Linked DNA regions of Homo sapiens: region 2 is linked to region 1. Evidence: promoter capture Hi-C in 16 types of primary human blood cells and fetal thymus (Javierre and others, 2016). All regions are on one chromosome and are shown on one strand. The core of a region is centred on a gene start or on the middle of the fragment in contact, and the rest is flanking DNA. Distances in the headings are between cores, read along the strand shown.

Region 1 (7,169 bases), core at 1,203-3,702:
TTTATACACATTACTTACTTAAAATTTTTAAGTTAAGACTACAGTATTATTTTTACCCAGCTTTACCAACTGTTACATTTTTCCTTCTTTTTCTTTGTCAGTTTTCCAGTTCCCATGTTAGCAACAATGTTTAACTGTTTTCCCAGCTAATCATGGTATTTAATCAAACTCACACAGTTAAATCACAACAGCTACCTGAATTCCATTGCCCCATGAACCCCGCGCTCCTGAGCTCTCTGCATACTTATTCTACAAAAAGCACAATTCCCTGTTCGTTACTGGGTGTATAGAAATTATGAGTTAGTAAAAATCCAGGAGTAAAAAGCTATTAATTTCTTGGCCTATGAGGCAAACACATAATCACTAGTGAACTTCAGAAAACAGGAGAAAGGCAAGTGCTTAAAAAAAGGTTTCACAAACTATTGTTTGTGCTGTCGCAATGGATGCAGAGTCTAATCCACTACTTTACATTAAAGAACCTGATTTTGGCCAGGCACGGTGGCTCACGCCTGTAATCCCAACACTTTAGGAGGCCAAGGTGGGTGGATCACAAGATCAGGAGTTCGAGACCAGCCTGGCCAACATGATGAAACCCCGTCTCTACTAAAAATACAAAAAGTAGCACAGTGGCGCGCACCTATAATCCCAACTACTCAGGAGGCTGAGGCAGGAGAACTGCTTGAACCTGGGAGGCAGAGGTTGCAGTGACATTGCGCCACTGCACTCTAGCCTGGGTGACAGAGCAAGACTCCATCTCAGAAAAAAAAAAAAAAAAAGAGAGAGAACCTTGATTTTAACCATCTATCCAGAGTCAATGTGGCTAGAGGATTGAACCACACTAACCAAACTCACTAGACACTAACGTGTTATATATAATGCCAATGCGTTAATTTAGAATTTTAAAAATATATGTATATGTATATGGCATATATATACGCATATGTGTGTATATGTATACGCACATACATCTCAAGAGTATCAAATCATGCATATCAAGGAATCACACACAAATGGTAAAGTATGCCCAAGGAGAGCCACATGATGCTATGAGTGTTACAGAGAGAAGAGACCAAGTCAGAAAGTCACGGAAGGCTTCCATGTAAAAAAACATTTTGATCAAACTGAGATCTAATGGAAGAGAAGTTAAAACAAGAGAATGGAATGAGGAGTAAGAAGGTTCTTGGATGACGGAAAAGCTTGTGCAATGGACCTGGGGCAGGAGGAAGCATGATACATCCAAGGGGGCAGAAAAAGATCAATGACCAAGAGAACGTAACACAGGATTAACTGTAGAGTTAGAGAGGAGTCAGACGACACAGTGCCTTTGAGGCCATGTTAAAGATTTTTGCCTTATCCTAAGAGCAATAAAAAGGTTGTGAGCAGGGATGAGAATGTATTTGGGCTTGCAAAAAGACTGGTGTGCTATATGAATTGAAGGGCAAGAGTAGAAGCACGAATACTGCTTAAAAAGCTCCTGCAGGAGACCTAAGTGAGGGATGGTGGCACCGTGGATTGGAGTTATGGCAGGAGTAAAAGAAACGGACTTGGTAAATGATTACACCTGAAGTGCAACGGAGAAGAAAATATTGAGGAGGATGACCAAGTTTCAAGTTTGCATAACTGGATGGATAAAGAAGCTATCACTGAAAGAGAATGAGAACACTCCAGGAAGACCAGGTTGTTTTGTTTGGTTTCATTGGGGGCTGGATGGAGGGTTGAGATGTAAAAAGTAAGAAAAGGTTCTAAGTATCAGTAACTGGAAGTCTTGGTAGAGAAGGATGAAAAATGGAACATGGGGCTGGCTGGGCGCTGTGACTCACGCCTGTAATCCCAGCACTTCGGGAGGCTGAGGCGGAAGGATCACTTGAGGCCAGGAGTTCGAGCCCAGCCTGGCCAACATGGCAAAAACCCATCTCTACCAAAAATACAAAAAATTAGCCGGACGTGGTGGCCCGCACCTCTAATCCAGCTACTTGGCAGACTGAGACAGGAGAATTGCTAGAGTTCGGGAGGCAAAGGTTACAGTAAGCCAAGACTGTGCCACTGCACTCCAGCCTGGGCCACAGAGTGAGGCTCTGTCTCAAAAAAAAAAAAAAAAAAAAGACAAATAGGATTTAGAGGTCAAAAGAGAGAGACAGTGAGCTATACTATAGTTTTTTGTTGTTGTTGTTGTTGTTTTTTAATTTTTAACTTGAGATGTGGTCTTGCTTTGTTGCCCAGGCTGGCCTTGAACTCCTAGGCTCAAGTGATCCTCCCACCTTGGACTTTCAAAGTGCTGGGGTTACAGATGTGAGCCACCACGACCAGCCGCTATAGTACACTCAAAAAAATAAAAAATTTGGCTGGGCGAGGTGGCTCACGCCTGTAATCCCAGCACTTTGGGAGGCTGAGACAGGCAAATCACCTGAGGTCAGGAGTTCAAGACCAGCCTGGCCAACATGATAAAATCCCGTCTCTACTAAAAATACAAAAACTAGCCTGGCGTGGTGGTGGGCGCCTGTAATTTCAGCTACTCAGGAGGCTGAGGCAGGAGAATTGCTTGAGCCTAGGAAGTGGAGTTGCAGTGAGCCGAGATCGCGACACTGCACTCCAGCCTGGAGGACAGAGTGAGACTCCATCTCAATAAATAAATAAATAAATAAATAAATTTAAAATAAAAGGTTTTATCTCCAAGGCCCGTCAACCAAGCCTAGACATCCTATTCCTCCCCATCACCTAAAATCTTTTAAAATCTATCAAAATGCAAGAAAAGGGAGAGGCTTAAAATGCAATACCTAGCAGAATAAAGAATTGGTATGAAAGAATTTCAAACTACATAATACATTGAGGTATCAGATGTGTCCCAATTTTGAGAATGAGTAAAGGAGCAATGAAGTGTCAGTCAAGAGAAAAGGGAAGCAGAAAAAAGAGACTGATGACCCCGCTTTACAAATTTTCACAGTTTAGACACGTTTATCTTTACCTCCGGATAAATGGCTGTTCTTGGTCTTGTGTGCTAAGGGAATGCAGAAATAGCTCTACACTGAAGCCCCTTAGCAGAAATCATGGCTTCCACTGCCATCACGTGGTTGAAGTGAGGAAGTGCACCAAGCAGGTTCTAGGAACCTAGGAATGCCTACTTGAAGCCCATGGTATAATTAATCCGTGATCAAAGACCTAAAGATTGCGGTAGTAGAGGGCAAACTGGTGACAGTGTTTGCTAAGAGATTCATCTTCTAAGCTGCCAATACACAAAAATCTAAGTTTTTATTATTAATTGGGAGTAAGAAAAAAGATTGCTCCTTTTTTCTTTTTCATGTTAAAGATCGTATATTTAGCAATTCTAGGATGCCCAGTCTGATATTAACGTCTCAAACCCAACTTCTGGTATATTATATGACTACTTACAAATGCCTCGATTTAATGCATATAAATGGGGTAATGTACATTTCTAGCACACATCAACAACCTCATCACGAACATAAGCAATTGTCTCATTAAATGTGCTAAATTCCCTTTGTCATCTTCAATTTAATCAAATAATAATTTTTGACTAGAAGTATAAGGTACAGTCTTAAGCACAATTCATAAAAACCAATTCATCATGTTCTCAAAACTCATCAGCTAAACAAATATATCACTAATATAATCAATATTATTCACAAAAAACACGATGAATAATTAACACATCATTCCTGATAGTTCTTTTCATAGTAAAAATAAGCTTGCCCAGTGGGATATTTGACGTTCTCTGCATTATTTAATTCCCTACCTTCCTTCTACTAGATTGAATATTCAATTACAAACATACCTCTTTAAAATTGTCTACACATACATATCCACTTGATTTTATTTTGTTTTCAAAAGCATCTGAACTCAAGGCTAGGGCACTGTAGACCAAAATGTCAAATAATTGTATTGGGTACATTTTTCCAATTCTCAGTTGTTTTTATATTGTAAACACAGCATAATTGTGTCACTAAGTATATTTTTGATCTTCACTTTCTCCCCTTAAAACCTAGACACCATTATCCTGTCTCTGAACATTCCAAAATATTAATAATCCAACTAGTTTTCCCTAATCCTCTAGGTTCTCTTTCCCATACACTCCCCAGCCAACACTCCCCCACCCCTTTCTTCCGTTTCAGAATGCCTCTTACACACACGCCCCGTGTAGTTTTTACAAAATCACTCCTTGGAATGCGTTTCCTTCTTCTCTCCTTAACTTGGCACCCTTTTTGAAATAATTTCCCACAGCTAGGCGCCAATGTCTTTCATTTACAAGATCAAACTGCGGAAGGGGAAGAGATTGGGAATCGAGTAACCGAAACATTTGGAAATGTCAATGAGACAGTGGCCTCTCCTTTGAAAAGAAAACACAACTCTCAGCACAGAGCTTTCAACAGAGCACAGATACTTTTCTTCGCTGTGCTCCTGTTCCCTCCCTGACCTCAAAGACACCTTCCCTTTTCTCTGATCCCCAGTCCCTCTGCTATGCGTGGGGCCTGCCTTTCCTCCTCCCAAGGAAAAGCAAGCCAGGGAGAAAAAGAAAAGGTAGCAGTCACCTTCCCGCCCGCAAGCGGTCAGGACCCTGTCCCACGACTCACCTGGCAGGTGCGGCCGCCCGGAGAGTTGCACGAAGCGGTTGAGCTGGCCAGTCCCCCGACCCCCGCTGCCCCCACTGCCCCCGCCGGCCCCGCTACCTCCGCCACCAGCGCCGGCGGCGCCTCCTCCCCTCCGGCGGTTCCTGTCCCAGCCCTGGGCGGCCGACATGACCCGCTAACGATTGCCGCAGCCCGGTCCCGTCAGCGCCTGACCCAGCGGAACCAGCGGAGCCTCCTTCCTGGGCTCCTCCAGAGACCCAGGAGACAGGGGAAGGGGGCAGCGCCCGGTCCCACCAGAGACCAATGACTTACCGCCTTGGTGAAAGGCAGCCAATGGTCAGTCGTTTTCTTGGTAGGTGGCGGGAGGCGGAGAGAAACGTGGTAACCATAGCTATGGCTAAAAAAAAAAAAGTAGGGGGAGAGAAAGGCAGAAGCAGCCACTCCTAGCTCTCATCGTCCGCTCTGGGCTGGCCGGCGTCACCCCGACTCCTGCGGGGCCAGGCGGGCCAATCGAAGACCGAGTGTCAGAGGCCGCGCCTGCGGAAAGACTCCCGGGGACGGCCAGTGCCTCAGTCTTGGTTAGGATTCAGGAACTTTTTCCCATAAACATTGCAATCAGACACTGGATATACGCATAATACACATATTTGGGGGCAAGACGGTATTCTGCCAGCTTTTCAGATTGAGATCCCATTCACTGATGGTTGACACACACAAAGGGCTTGCTTGGGGTCCGGGTAGGTGAGGGGACCCAGGGGCGGAGTCAAAGCTAAAATGTAAGAACCAGATATTCCTGGGTTTCATTTGTCTTTCAGTCGGCTTAGCTGCATTTGTCCCTGTATAAGCCACGTCCCAATCAAACAGTTTTAAACCTGGTTAACAAATATGGGAAAATGTTCACTCTCACCTGTAATCTTAGAAATACAAAATAAAACCCCAATGAGAAACCATTTCTGGTTTATTACATCAGTAAAGACTTTTCAAATAACACCTGGCAGTGTGTGGAATGCCAAGAAAAAGGTATTCTCATAGATGGCTGATGGCTCTGTAAATATTTTTGTTCGCTCAAACTCCTTTTGGCTAGTAGAAAATTTTAATCAGCTTGGAAGATATATAATCAAGAGGAAATGTAAAATTAAATAAAAGGCAGCAACGGGTATGGAAGATCAAGATCAAAGAAAATTTTTAATGTGCCGATCAGGAGTTTCTATTGTTCCAAAATTAAACAGAAATTTTGGCTTGAAACTTACTGGGCGCAATGCAGACTGGGAAAACATACTATACACTGATGTTTCTGAATGATAAGGAAAAAGCATATCAAATTCCTCAAGGGAAACAAAACTTTTCAAGGTCCTTAGATGTGACAGATTTTTTTTTCTTTTGCATTAGAAGAACCTTACATGGTTGCAGAGAAAAAAAAGAAACTCTGCTGGAGCTGAGGACAAATACCCTTTGTACCTGGTGTGCAAATTTCTGGTCGCCACTGGCACTGCCTCCTTGTTTTCCTACTTCCAGTCCCTGTAGGCAGAAATGTTTTAGTCACTAGCACCATAGCACGCTGCTTATGAAAATGTTTGAGACTTGAAAAAAAAAAAAGCCTATGGTTCTAAAATATAAAAACCAAAATTAATATATGTTAACTGTTTTTTTTTTTTTTTGAGACGGAGTCTTACTCTGTCGCCGAGACTGGAGTGCAGAGGCATGATCTCGGTTCACTGCAACCTCTGCCTCCCAGGTTCAAACAATTCTCCTGCCTCAGCCTCCCAAGTAGCTGGGATTACAGGCATGTGCCACCACGCTCTGCTAATTATATTTTTAGTAGAGATGGGTTTTCACCATGTTGGTCAGGCTGGTCTCCAACTCCCCATCTCAGGTAATCCACCTGCCTTGGCCTCCCAAAGTGATGGGATTACAGGTGTGAGCTGCTGCGTCTGGCCAGTTTTTTATGTATATAGGCAAAATGCAGTCTTACACATTTTACATGTTTAACCTGTCTAATCCTCACAGAAATCCTATGAAATGCTGTTTTCCCAATTTGCAAAGCAAATTTGTAGAGATAGGGCAGTGTGTGGGGATGAGGGGGTGGTTTTGCCTTGTTGCTCCGGCTAGTCTAGAACTCCTGGCCTCAAGCCATCCTCCTGCCTTGGCCTTCTAAAGCATTGGGTTATAGGCATGAGCACCACGCCCAGCCAAAGTAGATTCTTAAGTAACACTTTTTAATTAATCAACTGGGAGAGATGAAATAAGAAAATAACATATAAAGTTTTGGTTGGGCGCGATGGCTCATGTCTGTAATCCTAACACTTTCTGTAATCCCAACCCTTTGGGAGGCCGAGGTGGGTGGATCACCTGAGGTCAGGGGTTCAAGACCGCCTGGCCAACATGGTGAAACCCGGTCTCTACGAAAAATTCAAAAAAATTAGCCAGGCGTGGTGGTGGGTGCCTGTAATCCCAGCTACTCGGGAGGCTGAGGCACGAGAATTGCTTGAACCCGGGAGGCAGAGGTTGCAGTAAGCCGAGATCGTGCCATTTTCACTCCAGCCTGGGCGACAAAGCAAGACTCCGTCTCAAAAATACATACATACA
Region 2 (7,169 bases), core at 1,667-4,166, 1.3 Mb before region 1:
ACTAAAATGTAAGTGCCTTTAATACAAGAGCTCTTTTAAAGTTCTGATTTCCTGTACTATATATACCTTTGTGCAGAAGCAGTAAAACACTATAGTTAAAGACCACAGACTGTGGAGCCTGACTACCTTGATTCAAATTCTGGTTCCATCTAGCTGTGTGACCTTAGGCAAGTTTAAACTTCTCCCTACCTGCTTCCAACATCTGGCAAACGGAGATTCCTCTTGGGATTGCGGTAAGGATTAAATGAGTTGATACACTTAAAAATGTTCATAAGAGAGCCTAGCAAATGGACGGCACATCATAAATGTTTACCATTTTTGTTACTGATTTATTACTGCCACCTCGAAATGCTTAGATCTATGCCAACAAATATTTGCCACTTTGTGGACAATTTCAACAAATGTCTTTAACCTAAAATGAGACCTGTTTAAGAAGTACCTTAATATGGTTTCCACTGCCAGTAAAGATACAACAATTGCTGCTAGAGGGGATTTTAGGGCAAAGGTAAGTAAAGTCAACCCCTTTCCTACATCTTCTGTCACACAGAGAAGTAATATCCTTGCTTGCTTATAGAAGTTCAGAGCCAAGAGTTTTATAATTTAGGCATGGCACACACCAACCCAGCAGACACAATATTCTCCAACTCCAGCTCCATAATACTCAACTATACTCCTTCAAAGAAAAAAGCTTAGATTACTCTTCTAATACTTTACTTTAAATACAAATTATACTGCATTTGTCAATAGAATGTCATAAGGATTAAACAAGATATAGTAAGTGGAAGTGTATGAAAGTTACGTATGTATTAAATACTATTTTATGTATGTACTTGAGAAAATTGCAGCAATGTATTTCTCCAATCTCAAATTGTTGCTTTCTAACTCCAAAACTAGTGTTCTGCCCACTGCAAACCAGGGGCCAGAGTAACAAGACACAAAAGATTAAAGTTGCCATCCCACTAAATCATTTCCTGCTTGAAATGTACTTTCTTAAAATGTCTATACAACAGATAACGCGGATGGTACTTGTGTTATCCAAGCCTCAGGCCTACATCAAAAATTTAAGGAGTGACGTCCTGGAAATACGCTAATTCAAGACCAGAAAAATGTCTCTACAGTTAGATCAAACAATGCCACACCAATTCCCAACTGTCCATAATCCTAGCCTGGGTATAGAAAAAAGCTGAATAACTTCAGATCCAAGAACAAGATAGCCCAGAATATCAGAGGTCAAGTACATAGGGCCACATTTCAACTCCAACTACATGGCTGGACTGTTTATCTGGCTCACTCTCAAATTCAAAGTTGGGTTTCAGCATCAATCAGGGATATGGCCATGAATAGGCTACGCAGGCCAGATCAAACCACAGGTCACTTGGCACCCTTCATTGGGCCAGATCCTACTGAATGCCAACCCTTGACCTGGTGAATAAAATGGGAGGCTGGCAGTCATGACAGATTCTTCCAGTTGCAGCTCCATTTTGAGATTCTTCATTGATATAACCAGTGAAATCAAATTTGGATAAATGTGAAGAATTTCTCAAATACAGATGGAAAACTTACTTGAGTATGCTTCACAGATCTAGTCACTTTTTTGTTTAGTAAAATACTCAGTAAAATATATTATTCATTAATTTGTTTCGTTCATAAAATCGTTTCGGTCCTGTGAGATGGTTAGAGGGACAACTAGCACTTTTCTTCAGGATCTGCACAGATCTTAACCCTTTACTAAGCCAGTTCCTCCACTAGCATGTAAAATTGGAGTTAGATCTGCTCCTCCTTTCAAAGATAAGCCAAAGATAAATAAGATACTATGTAAGAGTATTTTCAGCATTTCAGAAGGAATTTGCTAGAGAAAAAAACACCACCAACAAAAACCTAACAATGCAACTGAATTTTTTTAACACCTAAATCAGGGATCAAGACAAAGCCGGTGTTGAAAATCAAATTCATTAAAGCCAGATGTTTCTATGTTTGAGTTTCCGGACTGGGAAACGTGTCTGTGTCCATACAAACCCATCTTCTAATGAGCCGTAATACTGAAATTCTTCGGTAACGTCCCTCCTTCCCACTCCCTATCTTTTTCAGAACTTCCAGGCATTAAAGACAACGTCTGCCAATCCTACAAGTTCTCCCCGCCTGCTAGGATTCAGATGGATTCCACAACTTTTCAGCCTTCCGTGACTTTTAACACTACTCTAGAGCTAATCACTTTTAATGACCCCACTCTGGAATAGACACTCCTCGGCTTTACACTTTGTCCCGGCAGCAATCGACTGAACTGTCCCCCGACGCCGACCACCTCGGACGACCTCAGACATTCGGGGTAGTTTGCCCGCGGGCAGGGCCCCGCCAACTCCGATTCCTGCCCCAGAGCCGTCCGCCCCCCAAGCCCTCCTCAACCTCAACCCCCAAATCCCAAGCGCAGAACCGCTGGGCTTCCGGTTCTCCTGTGCGCGCCCCGGATCCGCCACACACCTCGCCCCTTCTCCCTGGGCTCGCTCTCCGGACCCTAACCCCTTCCCGAGCGAGGCCGAGCAACGCTCTCAGCAGCTGAACTAAGACTCCGGAGGCCGCACGTCCCCCTCAGCAGGCCCCGCCTGGGCCTCTCGGCTCGGCTGCCCTCCATTGCACCCCTGGCCCAACCGTGCTGACGCGGAAGGGTGGGGCAGCACGAGCTCAAGGCCCGGCACTTACTCGGGAAGGTAGGTGGAGGAAAAGGAGCTCCACTTGTGTAGCGCGTAGGGGAGAAGCCGGCACTCGGGCGCCGCAGCGACAGCTCCGCCAGCCGCCATCTTGTCAGCACCGTAGCGGCCGCCACCGACCGCTGGCAGCGAACGGGAGGAGGGGAGGGGGCGTGGCCTGCTCTTAAAGGGGCCGCCGCCCTCCCCGGCCGCCCGCGCTCCCCGCCCCGCATCGTTACCCGAGCCCAGCGCCGGGCCAATGTCCTATCTCAGGGTTTCCCACGTCGCTCGCTCCTTGACGGCTGACCGACACTGGGTCTGAGGTGTAAGCGCTTTCCAGGCCCTTCCCTGGGGCTTGGAGGGGAATGGCGCAAAGGACTTTTCTTACAAGCAGAGGTAAGGAAAAGCCGAGATGATTACGAACAGAAACACGTTGTAGTTATGGAGCAGGAAGGGAAAATAAGAAGACCAAGTTGGAAAAGGGACGCCTGTGCGCTTTTGGAAGCCACCGCCCTCGCCAGTTTATAAGTCCTTTACGGAAACAACACTGAAGGGAGCTGGAGGGCAGTAGCTAATGTGCTGTCCTCCTGGAGTGGTCCTGGTTTTAAATGTCTTGTCCCCGCCTTCCAGAGTCAGATGGAGACAGGAAAAGGAAATGGTCCCGTGTCCTCCTACCCTGTTTGGTTTGCAGTCTGTGATGCCCTTCATTGTAAACATTTCTTGTGAGCCGCATCCTACTAATCTTGTGGCATTGGTTTGCTCGGGAATGACGTTCACCCACAGACCTGAAAAGTCCTTACAGAGTTGGGAAGCTGCGTGTCATCATTTTTTCAGTTGGCAAATCTGCCCACTTTGAACTGACATAATTGTAGCCTAAAAGTTCAGAGAGAGAGTAGTTCAGGAAAAAGACTATTCCTTCTTCTTAGAGGGAACAGCAGCCCTGAAAACTATGTGGACATCATACCAGCTTCTTACAACAAAAGGTGCACTTGGTCTAAATTATCTGGCAGCTCTAGATAACGTTCTCATCAAGTACCTGTTTGTTGTAGTTATGCATATTTATTCCTTGGCTTAGCCACTGCAGTTACCAAAGAGTATGTCGCTTATTGTCTAAGAGGTTGGACTCCTGAAAGCCTGGACAGTGTCATCATCTTCACCTGAAGAGTGGAAAAATTCAAGCAAAGAGTTTCTCAGGAAATGACCAAGTGAGTCAAAACACCTCAATAATTGTATTCTCTTCCCGTTGTAATCATTAACCTGCCGAAATTCCCTCCAGTCCTTTCCTGACTTCCTGTTTCTATAGATGGAAATTTTAATAGTGGGCTCTACTAGGATATCAAATCAAAAAAGCCAGATAGAAAGGCCAGGCCCGGCACGGTGGCTCACACCTGTAATCCCAGCACGTTGGGAGGCTGAGGTGGGTGGATCACCTGAGGTCAGGAGTTCGAAACCAGCGTGGCCAACATGGTGAAACCCCGTCTCTACTAAAAATACAAAAGTTAGCTGCGTGTGGTGACATACACCTATAATCTCAGCTACTTGGGAGGCCGAGGCACAAGAATCACTTGAACCCAGGAGGCAGAGGTTGCAGTGAGCCAAGATCACACCACTGCACTCCAGCCTGGGCAACAGAGTGAAATTCTGTCTCAGAAAAACAAATAAAATACAATAAAATAAAAAATTACATGTGCTTTCTGTGTTGCAGCAGGTTGGAAAAGCATGTGTTCCTTAAGGGAATGCTGTAACTGTAGTGACTTGGGTCGGGAGCTGCCAGAGACAGTGGGAAAGGGCCAGAGAATGTTAGCCCCAGAGATGATATAGTGGTTATCTTTGAAGAAAATAGACACTTTAAAGGGGAGGAATTAACTCACTCCAATTCCTTTGGGCCCCAGATTTTATAATTCCACTTCTTACCTTAATGTAAGTCAAGTCCTTGTTCTTTTCCAGACATAGTTCCTGAGCAATCTTTTTTAAAAACACATGTTAATTAGTTCTTCTTAAGCTTAAATCCTTTTGGTGACTTTCAATACCCTTCTAAACTGTTTAACAGAGGCCCTTCATAACCTGCCTTGATTTTTCTCTCCAGCTTCCTCACCACCACCCCCCCCCCACTTTTCTCCTTTGCGCTTTTGACATCTGCCCACTAACTAGCACACTGAATTTGTTCCCATAGAGTCCTTGTTCTCTCTAGCCTCCGGAGCTTGCTCTAAGCCAGGCATGGAATATTCTTTCCCATTCTTTACCTGGCTAACTCCAGCTCATCCTGTAGACTGTTTGGTCCTGGAAATTTTTTTGGTTTTTTTTTTTTGAGACAGAATCTCACTCTGACTCTGTCACCCAGGATGGAGTGCAGTCACATGAACATGACTCACTGCAGCCTTGACCTCCTGGGTTTAAAGGATCATGCTGCCTCAGCCTCCCATGTAGGTGGGACCACAGGCAGACATCACCACACCAAGCTACTTTTTAAATTTTTTTGTAGACACAGGGTTTCACTCTGTTGCCCAGGCTGGTCTTGAACTCCTGGGCTCAAGCGATCCTCCTGCCTCGGCCTGGCCTCCCAAAGTGCTGGGATTACAGGTATGAGCCACTGCGTCTGGCCGAAAATCTTTCTTCAACACCTGCTCTGGGATTAGGTGACAGTTTTCTTCATTTTTTTTTTCCTATGCAAGCTAACACAGGATAGGTAACATTTTTTACATTTCTCTTAGCACTCTAAGTTTCCCTCTTTATCTTAGCACACATCACAATATATTTTAATTTTCTCTTTTTTCCCCTTTCTTTCTCTCTAAATGATAGCTCCCATGAAGATAAGAGTCATACATATCTTGTTCACAGTTGTATCCTCAGTCCTGTTGATGTGTCTAGCAAATAAAGATGTTCAGTAAATATTTATCAAAGAGTGAATGAATAATGCTAAAAGAGAACTTTAATTAGAGACTTCTGAGTTGCAAAGGAAAAAAAAAATGCCAGCACTTCTCAGACTACAAACGTGTATCCCTGAGGTATAATTGCTACTCAGAAGGTAAAGACCCAGGATAGCATGGCTTTCCTGCATCACAAATTTTATAAATGGTAAAATAATTTAAAGCATTCCTATGTTAACATACAGACAGCTATATTATGATACCAAGACGAAAATTTGTTTAAATGTTAAGAAAAGAACTTTATCTGAGGAATGCAAATCCTTTTAAATTATGAGGCCCAGAGAGGCATTAAAGTGAAACAGCAATCCTGTCCTTCTCCCCCACTTTTGAACTGTGTATTTGTCTCTTGAAACTGCTTACTATTGCCACAGAAGCTAAACATTAACCTACTAATTAATGCTGCACCAGACATTATAACCCTCATCCTATAGTTTCATAATGTATAGCCAATCAGTAGCTTGATTTATTTTAATGTAAATTCTTGGTAAATAACTCAGGCACTGCCTCATCTTTCCCTTTAAAAATCCACTTGTAACTGCTGCTACTCAGAGTGTATATTCAAGGCAACCTGAATCTATGTTCCCAGGTTGCAGTCATCAAGCTTGGCCCAAATAAACTCCCAACTTATATTAATTTTGCCTCCGCTTCTTCCTTTTAGGTAAAACATCTGGAGTAAGTCAGCAGGATTCACAGTGACTCCCCCCAACCAGCTGGTGGTGTTTCTCTCTGAAAGCAGCGCTTGGTACCAGTGTGAACTCTCTTCCTTCAGAAGTCTCATCAGGTGTTTCAGATGAGTTCTCCGGAATTTGGACCTCCTACTCTTGGGTTGAAGGTCTAGACTTTATTTGGGCTGTTTTTCAAACCCTTTCTTTAAGTGTGAGGGCTTCGGTCTCTGTCTTTGGACAGAAGATTCGGGTATAGAGCTCTGCAGGGAACTGCCTTTTTTCCCTCTCTGTCTTACAGCAGAGGTGCAGGTCATGGTTTTTCTGCCTCTGCCTCAGAACCAGGGGTTTGGGTCAAGTTTTTTTCACCTCTGTCTCACAGCAGAGGTTTGAGTGAAAGAACTGGCAGTTAGGCACCAGTGGTTTCATTTTATATCGTATGTGTTTGAGATAGCAGTTGTTTACTATCACTTGAAAATTCTGAATTAGTCTTTAATTTTAACTAATTCCTGTTAGTTCCTAACTGAAATGTGTACCCCTTTTGCTCTTCCAGGTGGACGTAATACGAGGGTCTGGTCCCCCATACCTTGAGGACTCCGCTGCCATCTGACAATTACAGACAATCCAATTGTCCTCATCCTTGAGGACTCTGCTGCCATCTGACAATTAGAGACAGTCCAAAACATGCCACACTTTGATCCTAAACACATTCCTGGCTTTGGTCACTTTTGAAAAGTTCCTGAGTTATGAGAAATCAATAATAAGAGTGTTCAAAACCTGAACACTCTTTTTAGAAATACCTGCTGGAACTACATATATGATTTATGGGGTACTGTCTTGTAGTATCTGGGAAAGTAGACCCATCTAACCTGGAATGATCATAGGCAACAATGACC

Evidence for each region. Contacts are between HindIII fragments. The CHiCAGO score rates a contact against its expected background, and 5 or more counts as called.
Region 2: the fragment with the promoter of MKLN1-AS here is called in contact with a fragment that was not itself captured in region 1 in 2 of 17 cell types (fetal thymus and non-activated CD4 T cells); the score reaches 6.0 in fetal thymus.

What each region holds. Positions count from the first base shown.
Region 1 is chr7:130,068,227-130,075,395 of GRCh38, reverse strand. KLHDC10 (kelch domain containing 10) reads right to left here and starts at 4,862. Exons shown (of 10, transcript NM_014997.4): 1 at 4,587-4,862. The coding sequence starts at 4,752. RefSeq lists a silencer at 4,658-4,827 and enhancers at 4,928-5,117, 5,148-5,347. The HindIII fragment of the contact is 2,507 bases long and covers 1,199-3,705 here.
Region 2 is chr7:131,323,526-131,330,694 of GRCh38, reverse strand. MKLN1-AS (MKLN1 antisense RNA) reads left to right here and starts at 2,916. Exons shown (of 6, transcript NR_125364.1): 1 at 2,916-3,080; 2 at 3,760-3,889; 3 at 6,270-6,392; 4 at 6,827-7,169. It overlaps MKLN1 (muskelin 1), which reads right to left and starts at 2,819. Exons shown (of 18, transcript NM_013255.5): 1 at 2,698-2,819. The coding sequence starts at 2,795. RefSeq lists enhancers at 1,901-2,477, 2,484-2,783, 2,478-3,054 and a silencer at 2,834-2,993. The HindIII fragment of the contact is 3,998 bases long and covers 691-4,688 here.